2 separate regions of the Homo sapiens genome follow, and region 1 is linked to region 2. The links are contacts of gene promoters, found by promoter capture Hi-C in human tissues and cell types (Jung and others, 2019). All regions are on one chromosome and are shown on one strand. Each heading gives the region's core, a stretch centred on a gene start or on the middle of the fragment in contact. The rest is flanking DNA. Distances are from core to core; before and after follow the strand shown. Region 1 overlaps ADAM32 (ADAM metallopeptidase domain 32). Region 2 holds the start of ADAM2 (ADAM metallopeptidase domain 2).

Region 1 (4,921 bases), core at 1,264-3,763, 720 kb before region 2:
TTTTTTTTTATCTCTTCAGGTTTTCAAAATTCACTTCTACAGATCGTAATTCCAGAGAAAATCCAAACAAATACAAATGACAGTTCAGAAATAGAATATGTAAGAGATATTTTTTCACAATCTAAATGTTTATATGAAATTTCATATTTTTATTATATAGCTATGAAATATGTCAAGCCCATTTTAATATGAATATAATGTCTCTTGTATTTCTACTGATAGGAATTAAAAGCTTTGATGGTAAAAGCAAATAGGTAAATTAGAATGTTCTGTATTTTTTTAATGTTTGTCATTTTCTTATGGTAAATTATTTTTAAAAGTTTACATATAGAAGAGAATGTAGAATTAAGTGTTTTATCTGAGTGATATCTAGGACATCAGCACAAAGAGAATAATTTTCTCCAAAATGTCTAAGACAATTTCTTTTAACTAAAGCCTGTTTCTCAATCTCCACCCCTACACCTAGCAATTCTCAGACGAGAAGAAACATTTCATTCTACTATTTTTATTAGAAAGGGAAATACTTTATTTTGTTCATTGATTTATTTAGCAACTATTTCTCTAGACTTGCCATGTGCATACCTATATGCCAGGTGTCTTAGGAGATTTAAAAAAAAGAAATATAATTAAGCAAGCTTTGCTTATAAGTGACCAATCTTTTGGTAACATTCTATTTTTAGCAGTTTTGTTGAGGTGCAATTTACAACACCATAGAGTTCACCCATTTTAAGGGTACAACTCAACAATTATTACAGCAGTACATAAATAGAATTGTGCAAACATTACCACAGTCCAGTTGTAGAATGTTGCTATCAATCCTAAAAAGATCCCTTATGCACATTTGTAGTTCTTCTCCAGCCCTTGGCAACCGCTGATCTGTTGTCTATCTCTATGTATTTGCCTCTTTAGGGGCATTTTATATAAATGGCAGCATGCAATATGTAAGCTTTTGTATTAGACTTTTTTCACTTAGGATTATCCATTTTGTAGCATTTATCAGGTTATTAATTTTTATATCTTATATGTGGATATACCACATTTTGCTTATCCATTCTCATTCTCCAGTTGATGGACTTTGGATTGTTTTCTGATATTGAGTATTATGAATAATTCTTTTATGAACATTCATGTATGGACATATATTTTCCCTTGGGTAGATTCTTAGGAGTGAAATTGCTGGGCACATGATAAGTTTGTGTTTAACATTTTTAGAAACTGCTACACTGTTTTCCATAGTGACTGTACCAATTTACATGTCACATCAGCAATTTTTGAGTGTTCCAGTTTTTTCACATACTTGTGAACATTTGATGTTTTCTGTCTTTCAGATTAAAGCTATTGTAGTGGGAGTGTAGTGGTATGTAATTGTGGCTTCAATTTGCATTTCTTTAATGAATAATTATGCTGAGTATTTTTCATGAGCCTAATAGCCATTTATATGCCTTTTCTGTGGAATGTCTACTCAAATTATTCTCCTGTTTTAAAATTTAGTTGTTTATTTATTTTTGAGTTCTATGAATTCATTATATATTCTGGACACAACTTCTCTATTTGGAATTATTTTCTCCCAATTTCTGGCTTGCTTTTTCATTTTTCTCAGTGGTGTTTTCTCAAACACAAACATTTTCAATTTTGATGACATTCAGTTTATCAAATTTTCTTTTTATGGATCTTGTTTTTGGTTTTGTATCTAAGAACTCTGTTATGGACTGAACTGTGGCCCCTCAAAATTCATATGTTGAATCCCTAACCCCTAATGTGACTATATTTGGAGATAGGGCCTTATGGAGGTAATTAAGGTTACATGAGGTCAAGGGCCTTATGGAGGTAATTAAGGTTATATGCTGTCACAAGGGTAGGGCTTTAATTAATCTAATAGGACTGATGTACTTATAAGAAGAGGAAATATACTAGGGGTTCATGCATACAAACTGAAGGTCATGAAAGGATACAACAAGAAGGCAGCTGTCTGCAAGCCAAGAGGAGAGGCCTCACCAGAAATCAGCCCTGTTGGCACCTTGATCTTGGACTTCCAGCCTCCAGAACTGTGAGAAAATACATTTTTGTTGGTTAAGCCACCTTGTCTGTGGCATTTTGTTTGGGTAGCTTGAGCAGAGTAATCCGATTTTGGTATTGTGAAGTGGGGTGCTGCTGTAACAAATACCTAAAAATGTTGAAGTGGATTTGGAACTGAGTGAAGGGTAGAGGCTAGAAGACTGGTGAAGTACATGCTAAGAAGAAGCCTAGATTGCCTTGAAGGGACTGTTGGTAGAAATATGGATGCTAAAGGTAATTCTAATGAAGGATCAGAAAGAAAAGACTTATAGAGAAAGCTTTTATCGTCTTAGGGAATATACATATCATTATGAACAGAATAGAACTGGTAGAAATATGAACATTAAAGGTGTTCCTGGGCCGGGCACGGTGGCTCACACCTGTAATCCTAGCACTTTGGGAGGCTGACGTGGGCAGATTACCTGAGGTCAGGAGTTCAAGACCAACCTGGGTAACATGGTGAAACCCTGTCTCTACTAAAAATACAAAAATTAGCTGGACGTGGTGGCAGGCACCTGTAGTCCCAGCTACTCGGGAGACTGAGGCAGGAGAATTGCTTGAACCCAGGAGGCAGAGGTTGCAGTGAGCCGAGATTGGGCCACTGCACATTAGCCTGGGTGACAGAGCAAGACTCCGTCTCAAAAAAAAAAAAAAAAAAAGTGTTTCTAGTGAGGTCACAGATAGAAATGAGAAATGTTATTGGAGACTGGAGGAAAGGAGATCCTTGTTAAAAAGTGGCAAAGAACTTGGCTGAATTGTGTTCTAGTCTTTTGTAGAAGGTAGAAATTGTGGGGGAAAACCTTGGGTATTTAGCTGGGGAGATTTCTAAGCAAAATGCTGAAGATGTGGCTTGTTTTGTCATCACTGCTTATAGAAAATGCAAAATGCAAGAGAAGAGAGGTAAATGGAAGGAATTATTTAGCAAAAAGGAACAAGAACTTGAAGATTTGAGAAATTTTCAGCCTACTTTGTATTTTTTAAAATGAGAAATGATGTTTTAGAAAGAACACCAAAGGTGTAGCTGGACAATCAGACAATAAAAAGATTCCTCATGATTTAATCCGCCATGTCAAGTGAAGCCAGGATCAGAGACGGGATTACATCAGCAGAAACACTGCCAGCTGGAACTAAAGGGAACAGAGAAAATTGGATAGAATGAAGGAAGGCTGTTTAACTTCTGGGATTCTACAGGATAGGACGATAGAGTTGTCTGGCTTCAAACATGCATCATTCTTCACAAACACCGCATGTTCTCACTCATAAGTAGGAGTCGAGCAATGAGAACACATGGACACAGGGAGGGGAACATCACACACTGGGGCCAGTCGGGGGGTGGAGGGCTAGGGGAGGGAGAGCATTAGGAGAAATATCTAATGTAGATGACGGGTTGATGGGTGCAGCAAACCACCATGGCACGTGCATACCTATGTAACAAACCTGCATGTTCTGCACATGTACTCCAGAACTTGAAGTATAATAAAAAAAGAAAAAGAGAAGAATGACCCTGAAAGCAATTCAGAGATCATCAGGGCTGCCACTCCTGCTACAGGCCCAGGAGGCAAGGCTGCATTCTCTTTGGTTTCAGAGAGTGGGGCCACCTCCTTGGTTTCAGTAGTCTAGGATGTCACTGTTTATTACCCCAGGAACAAGGCTGTCACCCAGAGCTGTGGGGGCAGAGCCGCTTTACAGAGCTGAGGGGATGGGGCCAGTCCCTAGGGCCATGGGAGAGTTGCTGTCCAAGTGGGCCCAGCAGGGTAGAGCATCCTGTCAAAGAAGAGTATTCTTGAACCTTAAGATCTAACGGAATTTGTCTTGCTAGGTTTTGGACTTTGTTGGGATTGTCACCCCTTTCTTTTTTTCTGGTTTCTCCTTGTTGGCATGGGAATAGCTATTCTATGCCTGTTCTACTATTGTATTTTGGAAGCACATAACTTGTCTGGTTTCACAGGTTCACAACTGGAGAGGAATTTTGCCTCAGGATGAGTCATAACTTGTATCTCAACCATACCTGATTTAAGTGACATTTAGATGAAATTTTGAACTTGGAATTGATGCTAGAATGAGTTAAGGCTTTGGGGCTTTTCCATGCAAGAAGGAAATGAATTTGGGGGGCGCACCATAGGGAAGAATGTTATGAATTGAATTGTGTCCCCCGCCAAATCCATATGTTGAAAACCAAACTCCCAGTATGGAGATAGGACCTTTAAGGAGATAGAGTTAAATGTGATCATAGAGGTGTGACCTTAATCTGATTGGACTGGTGTCCTTATAAGAAGAGGAAGAGATACAAGAGGTCCTTGTCTGTCTCCATGCATACACAGAAAAAAGGCCATGTGAGAACATAGTGAGAAAAGAGCTACCTACACGCCGTAAAGAGAGGCCTCACCAGAAACCAACCTGCTAGCATATTTATCTTGGATTTCTAACATCCAGAACTGTGAGAAAATAACATTTCTGTTTTTGTTTTTGTTTTGAGACAGAGTCTTCCTCTGTTGTCTAGGCTGGAGTGCAGTGGTGCTATCTTGGCTCACTGCAACCTCTGACTCCCAGGTTCAAGCAATTCTCATGCATCAGCCTCCCAAGTAGCTGGAATTACAGGCATGTGCCACCACGCTTGGCTATTTTTTGGTAGAGATGGGGTTTTGCCATGTTGGCCAGGCTAGTCTTGAACTCCTGACCTCAAGTGGTCTGCCTACCTTGGCCTCCCAAAGTGTTGGGATTACAGGCATGAGCCACCACACCTGGTCCTAAAATTTCTGTTGTTAATGTCACCATGCCTGTAATATTTTATTATGGCAGCCTAAGCAGACTAATGTAAGGTCTTTACCTAACCCAAGCTCACAAAGATTTTCTTCTGTGTTTTCTA
Region 2 (4,930 bases), core at 89-2,588:
ACATCCAAGAGGAAGACAGATTCAGAAAATGGACTTGGGGCTTTGATAACCAGCATCACTGCACCATTATTTCTGTGAAACATTGTTGATCCTGGTTCATTTTCAAAAGGGCTTTTCCATTCAGGGAAAATTTGGTATAAATATAAAATTCAACAGGTGTGCATGAATGAAAAATGGCAGATTAACTTCTTAGAAACAAAATCTTTACATCATTTTAAATTTGTAAATACTGTTAGTGATTCATTACCTGCGATTCAATTCCTTCCTTTATTATTGACCGTATTTTCTCCGGAACTGTAATTTGCACAGGTAAACTATCAAAATCTGCAAAATGTGCAAAATGTTTTATTAGAACAATGCCCATCATTTCAGAGCGTGTTTTATGAGTTTTTCATCTAAATCTCTAATCTCTATTCTATACGCTGCTTCTCATTTTTATTATCTTCCCATTTCTTTCTAAAAATACAAGGAGGTTTTTTTTTCTGTTTTTCTGTTTTTTTTTTTGTTTTTGAGACGAAGTCTCACTCTGTCGCCCAGGCCCAGGCTGGAGTGCAGTGGTGAGATCTCTGCTCACTGCAACCTCCGCCTCCCGGTTTCAAGCGATTCCCCTGCCTCAGCCTCCCCAGCAGCTGGGACTACAGGCACGCACTACCACCCCCAGCTAATTTTCTATATTTTTAGTAGAGGGGGATTTCACCATGTTGGCCGGGATGGTCTCGATCTCCTGACCTCGTGATACGCCTTCCTCAGCCTCCCAAAGTGCTGGGATTACAGGCATGAGCCACCGTGCCCGGCCATATTTTTTTAAAAAAGAAGTAGGTGTATTGCTTTAGGAGTATTGCCCTGTAGGTAGGATCTGGTAACCTTGGGTCAATAGGTTCAAGCCCCTCAGGACAAATTAACTCACTCTGGACTCTTCAACTAGAGAGTACAGAAGTTGGGTCTCAACTTTCACTGTCGTGAAAAATGCAAAGCAGGATCTGAAACTACAATTTTGAAGCAACCTCTTAAGGCCTAGGACCTCCTATCTTATCTTTCCTAGGTTTCCAGGACGTGTGGGAAAGCCCTTATTCTACGTGGATTTTGGGTGGGGAAGGCGGCAATGTCGGGGATGAGCTTGGAATTGCTGAGTTGGAAACCCCTCAGGAAAGCATCCTCCCAGGGATGTCAATGTAACTTGGAGGCAAAGGGAGAGTAGCGCTGAGGGTCCCAAAAGGCCAGAGGAGGGGTTTTTCTGCTTACTACTGTCCATCCGCAGCCCGCCGAGCCCGCTGAGCAGAAACAAGACGCGCCACATGGCTTGAAGTCCTGGGTCCCAGCCGGAATAATGGCAGTTGGTGGTTACAGGGCAGTTGGAAGCGCGAGATGACGCCCCGGCCACGCAGCCTGGAAGAGGTAGGCGGCTGGGAGAGCCCAGGTGGGCTGAGGTTGGGTGTGGTGCGCTGTGGAACGTGCGAGCTCCTGAGCCCTGTCTCTTGCAGGACAAGCACTCCACTGGACGTGATGCCTAATTAAGGCAACAGCAACAACAAAATCACTTCCAACAGCTGAGGAACAGGAAGATTTATAAACACTTCTTAAGTAAAATTTCAATTGAATATATATAAACACGTATCAGGAGTTCGAGACCAGTTTCCGCAACATGGTGAAACCCCGTCTGTACTAAAAATACAAAAAAAAATTAGCCAGGCATGGTGGCGGGTGCCTGAAATCCCAGCTACTCGGGAAGCTGAGGCAGGAGAATCGCTTGAACCTAGGAGGCAGAGGTTGCAGTGAGCAGAAAGACCTTACCACTGCACTCCAGCCTGGGTGAGAGAGCGAAATTCCGTCAAAAAAAAAAAAAAAAAAAAAAAAAAGAACGAAACAAAAAACGAAAAAAAGTATATAATAAATCATAAGTTCACAGGTCAATTAATATTCAAGTGGAAAAAAAAAACAGCGTAACTAGTACCACGATGAAGAAATGAAAAAGAACCACCCAAATCCCCAGATTCCAACCTCACAACCATGACTTCTAAACAACCAAAGATTCGTTTTGTCTGTTTTTGAACTTTTCGCAAGTAGAAGCAATCACCATCTACTCTTTCATGTCTGGGTTCTTTTAATAGGATGATTGTAAGGTTCATACAAAGCAATAGTTCTGTTTTATCCTCATTGGTGTATATTACAAATTCATTAAATATAACACCACTTGTGTTTCCATTTTACTGTTAATGAATATTTTGTTTGTTTATTGTTCCAGCTATTAAAAATAATATTTAGCTATAAACATTCTTCTACATGCCTTTTGGTGTAATAAGTAAGGATTTCTACTGTGTATATTTCTAGAGTGAAGTTGTCGGATCACAGGGTATGTGTTGGTAGATACTTCCGACAAGTTTTCCAAGACTGTACTAATTTATACTCTCACCAGAAGTATATGAAAATTCCACTTCGTACACATCAATGCCTTGTTGTGTTGTTGTGTTGTCTGTAATGTTCCTTCATTGTAATGAACTTACCAACTTTTATATCAAGACATGCTGCCCTCATAAAAGAAATTAAGAAATGTTATCTCTTCGTTTAATCTTTGAAATAGTGTAATGCTGTGAATATTTATTCTTTTAATGTTTCTTAGCATTTAGAAATGGAGTGATTATGACCTGGAGTTTTCTTCATGAGAAGATTTATTTACTTTTTTATCTAATTTCTTTAAAATATTCATATTTTTTTCTTTTCGTGTTGGTTTGAGAAAGTTATGTTTCTGAAGGAATTTGTCCATTTCTTTGGGGTTGTTAAATTATTGACAAAAGTTGTTCATAATGACTTCCTCTCCTCTAGCAACTTTTTAAGGTCTATAGCACCTGCAGACATATCTCTTCTTCCATTCTCAATGTTGATAATTTGTGATGTTTCTCTTTATACTGGGTAAATAGGTCTTGGAATGTATAATTTTTATTAAGTTTTACAGGAACTCGGTTTTGGATTTCTTTATTTTTTTCTGTTGTATGTTTTCTGCTTTGTTGATTTTGTTCTTGGGTTCTTTTCCTTTTTTCTACTTTGGGCATAATGTTCCTTTTCTAGCTTCTAAGATTGGAAGTTTATATTATTTATTTTAAACATTTCTTCTTTTAACCTATGCCTTTAAACTACAAATTTCCATGTATTTCCAAATTTCTATCTATTCATTGCTTTAACTTCACCATTGTATTCTTATACTTTATTTTGATATACTTTACTTTCATTAATATTCAATTCTAAATGTTTTCTAATTTTCATCATGATTTCTTTTTGCCCCACATGTTTATTGGTGTTATTTAAATGCCACATATTTAAGCATGTATTAATTACTTTTTTATTGATGTCTAACTCAATTCCATTGTGATCATAGATTGTATTTTGAATAATTTCAAGTCATTGCAATTCACTAAGAGAAAATTCATTGCCCATTATATGGTTCATTACATTGAATGTTTCGAACTTTAAAAGAATGCAAACTTTAAAAGAATGCAGACTATTTAGCTGTGGATTATATTATTCTTTAAATGTCAACTAGATCAAGTTGGATAATACATTTTCAAATATTTTATATCCTTATTAATTCTTGTTCTTTTATTATGTCCAACTAAGAATACTTTTCTATTTTTCCTTTGTGTTTTATCAATTTTTAATTATCATATTTTGAAGATAAGTTATTTTTTTAAAACTCATTTAGGGAGGTTTTGTCTTCCTGATGAAGTGAACTTATGTCATTATAATGTCACTCTTTGCCCATACTGGCTTTTTGCCATTAAGCTTATTTTATCTATCACTTCCATAGCCAGATTTTTAAAAAAATAATTAGAATCTGCTTGGGATATTTTAAAAAAATATTTCACTTTAAAGGCATATCCTTAAAGTTTGTGTGTGTGTGTTTGTGTATAAATAACATACAGATTTTTAAATTCAGTATGATGAACCTGACTTTAATTGAAGTATTAGGTCCATTTCCTTACAGTAATTACAGACATGTTAAGTTTATGTCTCTCACCTGCTAGCAGTTTTCTATTGTTTTCCTACTAGTTGTCTGGTCTTTTATTTTTACTTTCTTACCTCTTTTGGATAATGGAAGCTGCTTTAAATTTAATTTCACCTGGTCTCGTTAATTTTTGAATATACTATTTGTTCTTTTGGGGGTTTTTAATGTTTAGAGATTATATTATATATCTTCAACATATTGCATTCCACATACCCATAATAAACAAAGTAAGAATATTGCAATAAGATAATTCAATTTAATTTAATTTAATTTTTATAGCCACATATTTTACATATATACATATATGTATAATTAATAGGCTTTTTTAGGGCTGTTCTAGGTTCAGAAAAATACCCAGTGGAAAACTGGGGTTAAGGTCACATATCCTTAACCCCACATGCACAGCATCTCCCACTGTCAACATCCTATATCAGTAAGGTACATTTGTTAAAATCCGTGAACATTGTACACATGGATACATCCTTAACAACCAAATCCATAGCTTACATTAGGGGTGACTCTTTGTGTTGTGCATTCTATGAGTTTTGACAAGTGTAATGATGTGCATCTATCATTATAGTGCCAATCAAAATTGTTTTCTTGCTGTGCTCCAATTATGCATCCCTCTCTTCTCTCTGAGCACTGATTTTTTTTACTGTTTCCATAATTTAGCCTCTTTCAGAATGTAATAATGGAATCACCAGTAGTATAGCCTTTTCATTTTGGCTCCTTTCACTTAGAAATTTAAGGTTCCTGGCCAGGTGCAGTGGCTCACACCTGTAATCCCAGCACTTTGGGAGGCTGAGGTGGGAGGATCACCTGAGGTCAGGAGTTTGAGACTAGCCTGGTCAAAATGGTGAAACCCCATCTCTACTAAAAATACAAAAATTAGCCAGGAGTGGTGGTGGGCACCTGAAATCCCAGCTACTTGGG

The links. The method cuts DNA at HindIII sites, captures the fragments that hold promoters and counts their contacts. A contact is called where the count stands out against the background at its distance.
Region 1: a fragment that was not itself captured here is called in contact with the fragment with the promoter of ADAM2 in region 2 in 1 of the 25 tissues and cell types used here (H1 embryonic stem cells).

The regions. Positions count from the first base shown.
Region 1 is chr8:39,118,067-39,122,987 of GRCh38, forward strand. ADAM32 (ADAM metallopeptidase domain 32) reads left to right here. Exons shown (of 25, transcript NM_145004.7): 2 at 20-99. Among named protein-coding and RNA genes, the nearest start is that of ADAM32, 13 kb to the left of the region's middle. The HindIII fragment of the contact is 4,905 bases long and covers 62-4,921 here.
Region 2 is chr8:39,836,889-39,841,818 of GRCh38, forward strand. ADAM2 (ADAM metallopeptidase domain 2) reads right to left here and starts at 1,339. Exons shown (of 21, transcript NM_001464.5): 1 at 1,243-1,339; 2 at 248-324. The coding sequence starts at 1,297. The HindIII fragment of the contact is 9,732 bases long and covers 1-4,930 here.